2 separate regions of the Homo sapiens genome follow, and region 2 is linked to region 1. Evidence: promoter capture Hi-C in human tissues and cell types (Jung and others, 2019). All regions are on one chromosome and are shown on one strand. Each heading gives the region's core, a stretch centred on a gene start or on the middle of the fragment in contact. The rest is flanking DNA. Distances are from core to core; before and after follow the strand shown.

What was found. The method cuts DNA at HindIII sites, captures the fragments that hold promoters and counts their contacts. A contact is called where the count stands out against the background at its distance.
Region 2: a contact is called between a fragment that was not itself captured here and the fragment with the promoter of NDUFB10 in region 1, in 1 of the 25 tissues and cell types used here (thymus).

What each region holds. Positions count from the first base shown.
Region 1 is chr16:1,958,240-1,960,787 of GRCh38, reverse strand. It overlaps NDUFB10 (NADH:ubiquinone oxidoreductase subunit B10), which reads right to left and starts at 1,250. Exons shown (of 4, transcript NM_004548.3): 1 at 1,034-1,250. The coding sequence starts at 1,163. RefSeq lists silencers at 621-730, 1,161-1,470 and an enhancer at 2,193-2,548. The HindIII fragment of the contact is 2,906 bases long and covers 1-2,283 here.
Region 2 is chr16:1,751,083-1,757,961 of GRCh38, reverse strand. All of the region lies in intron 8 of MAPK8IP3 (mitogen-activated protein kinase 8 interacting protein 3), which reads right to left. Among named protein-coding and RNA genes, the nearest start is that of NME3, 17 kb to the left of the region's middle. RefSeq lists an enhancer at 5,290-5,790 and a silencer at 6,834-6,879. The HindIII fragment of the contact is 7,397 bases long and covers 1-6,105 here.

The sequences.
Region 1 (2,548 bases), core at 1-2,500:
GGCTCCAACAGGGAGCCTCCAGCAAGCAGAACTTACCACCTTACGGCCTCAGCTTCCTCACTGGGAAATGAACGAGCTAAAAGGAGAGCTCGAACATCCAGACACATAGGACAGACATGCTCTACAACTGCTACAAAAGAGAGGGAGCTGGGTCCGCTGTTGCACGGTTTCCAGATCTTTGGGGGTTTGATTTGGAGACTTCACCCTCTTACGGAAGAACCACCAGAGCATGCTATGCACCCCAAGTGTTCAAAAAGAACTGAACCAGGCTGGACACGGTGGCTCAGGCCTGTAATCCCAGCACCTGGGGGCCAAGGTGGGAGGATCACCTGAGGTCAGGAGTTCGAGACCAGCCTGGCCAACATGGTGAAACCCCGTGTCTACTAAAAATATAAAAATTAGCTGGGCGTGGTGGTGGTGCGCCTGTAATCCTAGTACTGGGGAGGCTGAGGCAGGAGAATCGCTTGAACCCGGGGTGGGGCAGAGGTTGCAGTGAGCCGAGATCGCGCCACTGCACTCCAGCCTGGGCAACAGAGTGAGACTGTCTCAGGAAAAAAAAAAACAACAAAAACTGAACTGGGCATTTTCCCGGTTCGTTCCAGAGATGCTGAATTTGGGCATCTCGGCCATCACCCCGACACTTGGTCATCCGGCAGAGAGACATTTGAGAGAGGCCTGAGGCCAGCGGTGCAGTGGAGGGGTGCCCGGGGCGGCGGGGGGCGGAGAGCAGTGCGGGGTCCTGGGGCAGTGGGCGCTGGGTGCGGCAGGGAGGGAAGAGTCCTGGGAAGAAGCGGGGCATCCCGGGGTGCAGGGGAGAGTAAGGGATCCTGGGAGGTGAGGTCCGGGGTGCAGTGGGAGGCCAAAGGAGGCGACGGAGCTCGGAGGTCTCCGGGGGTGGGGAGTTGTCCCCGGGGTGCAGCGGGGGGCGGTCTCAGGCAGACGGGACCCCGGAGGCATTGGAGGATCCAGGCAGGGTGTGGGATCCAGGGGTCCCCAGAGGCCGGCGAGGGAGCCCCGGGCTGGGGCTTCGTACCTCTCACGAGGGTCACGGGTCGGTCCACGATGAGGTCGAACGCTTTCATCATGTAGACGATGGGATTGGGCTGCACCGGCGTGCGGCGCGGGGGCTCAGGGTACACATCCTTGTCCCAGCTGTCCGGCATGGCGGCGGCGGGCGCGGACTCCGCTCCCGGACGCGCTGCCCTGGCCTCTACCTCCGTCCGGGTCCCGCGGCCTAGGTCGCCCGCTACAGAGGACGCCGAGGGCGGCTGCGTCTGCGCGCTGGCGCCGCGATGCACCATGGGACTTGTAGTTCCCCGGCTCCGCCGGGCGCGGCCGGGACCCGCCTCGCCGCAGGGCGCCCCCGCGTGGGGCCTCCGTTCTCGGTCTGTGCCGAGCGCCTACGCGGTGCTGGTCGCTGGTCTGGGCGCCTGGGAAGCAGCCGCGAACCGGACAGATTCCTGCTTACGATGAAAGAAACAGACAAAAGGCAACTGACATAAGGAATAGGAGGGGGTCATTCGGTTCCCACTGCGCGCCAGGCACTGTGCTGAGTGCAGCAGGGAATAAGATAAACTGTGATGGAGAACACAGGCCGTTAGAGCGCACACGACAAAGTGAACAAATAGCACGCGATTCCAAACACCCTACTCCTCCAGGAAGCTTTCCTGGATTGCCTAGTCCCTACAGACTTCTCTGGGCCCCGCTCTCTACAAGGGCCCCTCATGGACTGGCTGGTGCCAGTTAACTTGGGAGCCTGTCTGGGGGAGGGCAGGGAGCAGACCAGGAGGCAGGGCTTGCCCTTAGGCGGCTCATAGGGAGAAGGCACCTACCCTGGGCACAGGGCCCTCTGGCCGGCTTTGATGGTTCCATCCTGGCCCTGGGGCACTCTGGTGCTTCTAGGCAGCTCCACTGAGCAGGGTCCTGCTGGCCACATCTTCAGTCTCCACACCTGGCACGGCCCCTGGCTGCTATCCAGGGGGGACACTGGTCATGTCCTGTCCTGAGGTTGAGGCCAGCGACACAGAACCATCAACCCTACAGACAAACAGTGAGAGGTGACAGCGTGCTGGCAGTCCTCAGAGCCCTCGCTCGCTCTCGGCGCCTCCTCTGCCTGGGCTCCCACTTTGGCGGCACTTGAGGAGCCCCTTTCTGGGCTGGCCAAGGCCAGAGCGGGCTCCCTCAGCTTGCGGGGAGGTGTGGAGGGAGAGGCGCAGGCGGGAACCGGGGCTGCGCGCGGTGCTTTGCGGGCCAGCGCGAATTCCAGGTGGGTGTGGGCTCGGCGGGCCCCGCACTCGGAGAGCCTGGCCGGCCCTGCCGGCCCTGGGCAATGAGGGGCTTAGCACCCGGGCCAGCGGCTGCGGAGGGTGTGCTGGGTCCCCCAGCAGGCCGGCCCACCGGCGCTGCGCTCGATTTCTCTCGCCAGGCCTTAGCTGCCTCCCCGCGGGGCAGGGCTCGGGACCTACAGCCCGCCATGCCTGAGCCTCCCCCACTCCGTGGGCTCCTGTGCGGCCCGAACCTCCCCGACGAGCGCCGCCCCCTGCTCCAG
Region 2 (6,879 bases), core at 1,158-3,657, 200 kb after region 1:
GGCCTGCAGGGAACCAGGCCCAGGCGCCGTGGTCCAGCCCAGGGCTGTGTTGCCGAGCCCTGACCCGGAAGCCTGCTGCCCTCTGCTCCCATCGCCCATCAGGAGGGCAGGCCCCCCGCAGCCCCCATGATGCAGGCCTGTGAAGAGGAGAGTGTGTGTGGCAGGGTGTGGCAGGTACCCAGTCTCCAAAAGCCCCCCAGCGTGGGCGAGGGAGAGAGCGGCGAGGGAGACACCGCAGACGCAGGCCTGGAGCTGGACTCCTAGGCTTCTGGGTCAGCCTGGGTAGGGCAGGACCTCGGTGAAGGATGACTGAAGTCACAATGGGAGCAAGGGCCCCACTGTGGAGGGCAGAGAGAACATGCCAGAAAGCAGAGGAGGGCTGGGGAGCGTGGGGCGGGCGAGGCATCCTCACTGGGTCCTGGCCCCTCCCTGCACAGGAGGCTGGCGAGGGAAACGCTCTGCGGGAAAACACCACTTCCTCCAACAGAGGTGAGGACGCGGTTCTCTTCTACTTGGTTGTTTCACACAGAAAGGAAAATGGCATTAAAAAGTCACTTGAGCAGGGCGTGGTGGCTCACGCCTGTAATCCCAGCACTTTAGGAGGCCGAGGCGGGCGGATCACAAGGTCAGGAGATTGAGACCATCCTGGCTAATGCGGTGAAACCCCGTCTCTACTAAAAATACAAAAAATCAGCCAGACCTGGTAGCGGGCACCTGTAGTCCCAGCTACTCGGGCGGCTGAGGCAGGAGAGTGGCTGAACCCGGGAGGCAGAGCTTGCAGTGAGCTGAGATCACGCCACTGCACTCCAGCCTGGGCGACAGAGCAAGACTCCGCCTCAATTAAAAAAAAAATGTCACTTGATTTAGATGACAAAACGGCTGTTTGTTATCGGAATTCCAATAATAAAGCAATTCCCAATTCGAGAGCAGATGTCCTTCTCTCTCATCTCGGCTTCCCAGGGCAACCACTGCTCACGGCCAATATTCTCCTCTCAGGTTTCCTTCTAGATAAGCAACAGGTTTCAAAGAACAAAAACGGGACCCCATTATCCATCTCTCTGGGAGGCTTCCTGTGTTCCACTCAGCACTTTTATGGGACTTTCCTGTGCTGAGGTTCCTGGATGCCTTTATTTATTTTTTGAGACGGGGTCTCACTCTGTTGCTCAGGCTGGAGTGCAGTGGCACTATCATAGCTTACTGCAACGTTGACCTCCCAGGCTCAAGAGATCCTCCCACCTCAGCCTCCTGAGTAGCTGAGTCTACAGGTACATGCCACCACGCCCGGCTAATTTGTGTGTGTGTGTGTGTGTGTGTGTGTGTGTGTGTGTGTGTGTGTGTTTTAGTAAAAATGAGGTCTCACTATGTTGCCCAGGCTGGTCTTCAACTCCTGGGCTCAAGCAATCTGCCCACCTTGGCCTCCCAAAGTGCTGGGATTACGGGTGTGAGCCACTGTGCCTGACCCCGGTTGCTTTTTTTAGATGGGGTCTCGTTCTGTCACCCACGTTGGAGTGAAGTGGCGCGATCCACCTCCCAGGCTTAAGCAATCCTCCCCATCAGCCTCCCAAGTAGCTGGGGCCATGGGTGCACACCACCATGCCCAGCTAAGTATTTGGTAGAGACGGGGTTTTGCCATGTTGCCCAGGCTGGTCTTGAACTTCTCAGCTCAAATGATCCACCTGCCTTGGCAGGCATGAGCCACCGCCCCTGGCCTGGTTGCTTTCAATGCCCTGTAGTGTTTCTCTATGGGAATATCTCATCATCTGTCACTGTACCCGCTCCCCCAAGACTTGGGGTCCCTGTGTGAGGGCTTGAGGTACTTTTCAGCCCTGTGACTGCCCGACTGCTCCCTCGAAGGAGCATCTCCAGCTGCTGGTCCACCACCATTACCACCCGCCAGTGCTCGGTGGGGCTGCACCCATCACCCCTGGCTGGCACGTAGGGCAGCACCTGCTCCACCCTAGTCAGCCTCGATTGTCTTATTTTCAATCTTTTAGGGAAAAAGTTTTCTTGATTTTCTCTTTATTTCTTTATTATTTCCGAAATTGAGCATCTTTTCAGATGTTTATTGGTATAGCCTATAAACTTCCTTTTCCTTTTTTTTTTTTTTTTTTGAGAAAGACTCTCACTCTGTCACCAGGCTGGAGTGCAACGGCGCGATCTTGGCTCACTTCACTGCAACCTCCACGTCTCGGGTTCAAGCGATTCACTTGCCTTAGTCTTCTGAGTAGCTGGGATTACAGGCATGTGTCACCAGGCCCAGGTAATTTTTGTATTTTTAGTAGAGATGGGGTTTCACCATGTTGGCCAAGATGGTCTCGATCTCTTGACCTCGTGATCCGCCCACCTTGGCCTCCCAATGTGCTGGGATTACAGGCATGAGCCACCGCACCCGGCCCCTTTTCCAGTTCTACTATCCTTTGTTGACGTTCTTATTTTTCTGAGACAGGGTCTTGCTCTGTCCCCCACGCTGGAGTGCAGTGGCACAATCATGGCTCACTATATCCTTGAACTCCCAGGCTCAAGTGATCCTCCCACTTCAGACGCCCAAGTAGCTAGGACCACAGGTGCCAGCACACCCGGCTGCATTCTGTTGTCCTCGTAATTGTGTACTTAGATCTTTAATCCACCTGGAAATCACTGCTGTTTACGGGGAGGTCAGGCTTAGACTTCATTTTACACCAGCAGCAACTAAGGCAGTACATTTACTGACTCATCTGCCCGTTTTCCACGGTTTGAGATGCCATACTTGTCATACATAGATGAATTCCCCATGGCTCCAGGTCTGTCTTGGCTCTTGGCCCTGAGCTCATGAGCTCGTATCACAGGTTTGTTGCTGCCTGCCTCAACTGCCGCAGCTTTATGTGGAATCCTGCAAGCTTTTTCTCTCCCCACATTTTCTGGGATATTCTCACATGTTTCCTCTACTGGATCAACTTCAGATCCATTCATAGAGTTCCAGAAAAATCTCCAACAAGCATGTGGGTATTTTTACTGGTAATGAACGGATTCCTGTGGGAACGGTGGGGCTGCCTGTCATGTCAGCAGACAGCTCACAGGGTGTGTCTTCAGGTCCGGGCACGTGGCAACACCCTCTGCGTGTACAGCTTCTTTTATGTCTTTCAATGGTGCTTCTGAATCTTACACAGGCTTGTCTTTTCTCAAGGTTATTTGTGGATATTTTCTTCTTCTTTTTTTTTTTTTTTGAGACGGAGTCTCGCTCTGGAGTGCAGTGGCATGATCTCAGTTCACTGCAACCCCCGCCTCCCAGGTTCAAGTGATTCTCCTGTCTCAGCCTCCTGAGTAGCTGGGACTACAGGGCCCGCCACCACACCCGGGTAATTTTTGTATTTTTAGTAGAGATGGGGTTTCACCACGTCGGCCAGAGTGGTCTCGAACTCCTGACCTTGTGATCCGCCCACCCTGGCCTCCCACAGTGCTGGGATGACAGGCATGAACCACTGTGCCCGGCCTATTTGTGGACAGTTTCTACATCTGGCTACTACATCGGTGGAATCTCTCCTGAGGGCTGCCTCGTCCATGCAGAGCAGAGCGGAGAGAAAGATCAGCTGCGTGGATTCCAGATTCCGCTCAGCAATGCAAGGCACATAGTATAACTTCTCTGAGTATTAGTCATTTGTGAAACAGAAAAATAAGTTCCTTAGTGAATATTTGCTGTGAAATTCCCACCAGGTAGTGCGGTAATAGCTGGTACAGCTCCCAGCACCAGCGACATACTCAGTGAGTATTAATTCCCTTACTCCCTATTAGGCCAATTTTTTTTTTTTTTTGAGACAGAGTTTCGCTCTTACTGCCCAGGCTGCAGTGCGGTGGTGCGATCTCGGCTCACTGCAACCTCTGCCTCCCAGGTTCAAGCAATTCTCCTGCCTCAGTCTCCCAAGTAGCTGGGATTACAGGTACCTGCCACTGCACTCAGTTAATTCTTTTGTATTTTTAGTAGAGATGGGGTTCACTATCTTGGCCAGGCTGGTCTTGAACTCCTGACCTCATGACCCACCCGCCTCGGCCTCCCAGAGTGCTGGGATTATAGGCGTGAGCCACTGTGCCCGGCCGGTCCTAGTATACCAATTCTAAGACGTACATTTTTTTCCTCATGTTAACATTTCTGAAATTTCAGTAGGTCTTAAACAATCACTGTCACATTATAGTTTAATTTGCAGCAGTTTTTTCTTTCTTGAAGATTCCTAAAATAATGGTACGTGGGGCTGGGCACGGTGGCTCACGCCTGTAATCCCAGCACTTTGGGAGGCCGAGGTGGGCGGATCATGAGGTCAGGAGATCGAGACCATCCTGGCTAACATGGTGAAACCCCGTCTCTACTAAAAAATACAAAAAATTAGCCGGGCATGGTGGCAGGCACCTGTAGTCCCAGCTACTCGGGAGGCTGAGGCAGGAGAATGGCGTGAACCCAGGAGGCGGAGCTTGCAGTGAGCTGATATCGTGTCACTGCACTCCAGCCTGGGCAACAGAGCAAGACTCCGTCTCAAAAATAAATAAATAAATAAATAAATAATGGTATGTGGGCTGGGTGCAGTGGCTCACACCTGTAATTCCAGTGTGATTTGGGAGGCCAAAGTGGGAGGATCACTTGAGTCTAGGAGTTTGAGACCAGCCCTGGCAACACAGCAACAGCCTACCTCTATAGGAAACAAACGAACGAACAAACAAAAAAGTCTTAAAATTGGTGTTGTCTGAGATTCGATGGAATACAACAGATGCCCGACCTGGGCTCTTTTTATTTCTCCATCACCAAAGGAACTCAGAGTAAAAATGCTGAGAGAGGTGCAGGGCCGCCCACGTAGACGCTGGACGGAGGGATGTCGCTCTCCACCTGCCGACTTTTGGCAGAAGCACCCTCCCGTCACGTGCAAAGCTGACGTGTTTCTGAAATGATGCTCTTTCCCAGATCTGTGCAGGCTCCAGGCTCTCCCCTGCTTGGCAGCCACACAAGGGCGTACTCCTTTTCCTGCTGTCTTCAGGAGTTCATGCCCATTCTGCAGCTGAGCTGGACATGGGGCGAGTTGATTAGGGCAGAGGGGCGCAGGTCCCAGCTCATTTGTCCATCCTGGTTGCCAGAGAGCAGGCTCCTCTGTTTCAAAAACCTTCCATCAACAGATTGCAGCAGCAGGAGGTCCCCACTCATCAGGACTGCCTGACTTTTTCTTTTCCTTCTCTCTTTTTTTTTTTTTTTTTAAGAGACAGGGCCTCACTCTGTCACCCAGGCTGGAGTGCAGTGGTGTGCTCACAGCTCACTGCAGCCTCAAACTCCCAGGCTGAAGTGATCTTCCCACTTCAGCTTCCCAAGTAGCTGGGACTTACAGGTGCACACCACCATGCCTGCCTAATTTTTTTATAAAATGTTTTGTAGAGATGGGGTCTCGCTATGTTGACCAGGCTGGTCTTGAACTCCTAGGCGCAGGTGATCCTCCTGCCCTGGCCTCCCAAAGCTCTGGGATTACAGGTGTGAGTGACTGTGCCTGGCCTCCCTGCCTTTCTTATACGCATTACGTTTAAGGCTCTGGAAAGGCACCAAAAGGTCTGTTACTCCCAAGAGCAGCCTGTCGTGCCAGCCTGAGCTCGGCGATGCCCAGATGACCAGCACCCTGCAGAGTAGGGTGGCAGAGCCCAGAGTGCACGGAGGGCGTGGAACGCATAGTGACTTGCAGCCTCATCGTGGAGCGCACAGTGACTCGGCCTCCATCGTGGTATGAGAAAAGGACTGCCTCACGGTCTCGTGGGAAAGCAGACTCCTGGCCAGTGCCCTCTAGGTGGGTGCTGCAGGGGGTGGCTGTGCAGCAGGGCGAGGCAGCACAAAGGCCACGGGTTGAGCACAGGGTACCACAGCCAACAGGATGGGCGGATGCGCAGGCCACAGAGTCCCTGGTTGGTGAGGAAGCTGCCAATCCTGGTCATCTCTTGGAGCCGGGCGGGGGTCAGAGTGTGGCTGGAGCACGATTCACAGCCTCCCAAAGGTGGAAAGCACCAAGCAGGGGCCCATTAGGGCAAACAGGTGAGCACAACGTGGTCTGTCCATGCAACGGGCACTACTCAGCAGTGAAAAGCCAGGAGGCACTGACACGCTGCAGCTGGGATGGACCTTGAAGATGTGATGCAACGTTAAAGAAGCCAGGCAGAAAAGGCCCATTGCTGTGAAACGTCTGGAACAGGCAAATCTACAGAGACAGAGCATGGATTTGTGGTTGCCTGGGGCTGGGGACGAGGGGCAGACAAAGCGACTGCTCATGGGCACGGGGTTTCCTTTTGGGGGTGAAGACGATGTGACTGTCAACACCGAGCATGCTAAGACCCACTGGACTGTACACCGTAAGTGAATGAATTACACAGTGTGGAAATCACATCTCAATAGAGCTACTGAACAGCACAGACCTTGCTCAGAGTTAGGGCTGCTGTTCTGGGTGGGACCTGCGTTCAAGTCCGAGCTCTCACCGTCATCTCACCCTCCCTGACCTCAGTTTTTTTTTTGAGACAGAGTCCCTCTCCCTGTCACCCAGGCTGGAGTGCAATGGTGCGATCTCAGCTCACTGCAATCTCCGCTTCCTGGGTTCAAACAATTCTTCTGCCTCAGTCTCCCGAGTAGCTGGGATTACAGGTGCCCGCCACCAGGCCCAGCTAATTTCTTTTTGTATTTTTAGTAGAGATGGGTTTCACCATGTTGGCCAGGCTGGTCTCAAACTCCTGACTTCAAGCAATCCACCCGCCTCGGCCTCCCAAAGTGCTGGGATTACGGGCATGAGCCACTGTGCCCGGCCTCAGTTTCTTCATCTATAAATGGGGACACTGGCAGGAGGGCGGCTTGATGCTGCAGTAAGGACCGACGGTGGCCGTGCCCGTCAGTGCTGC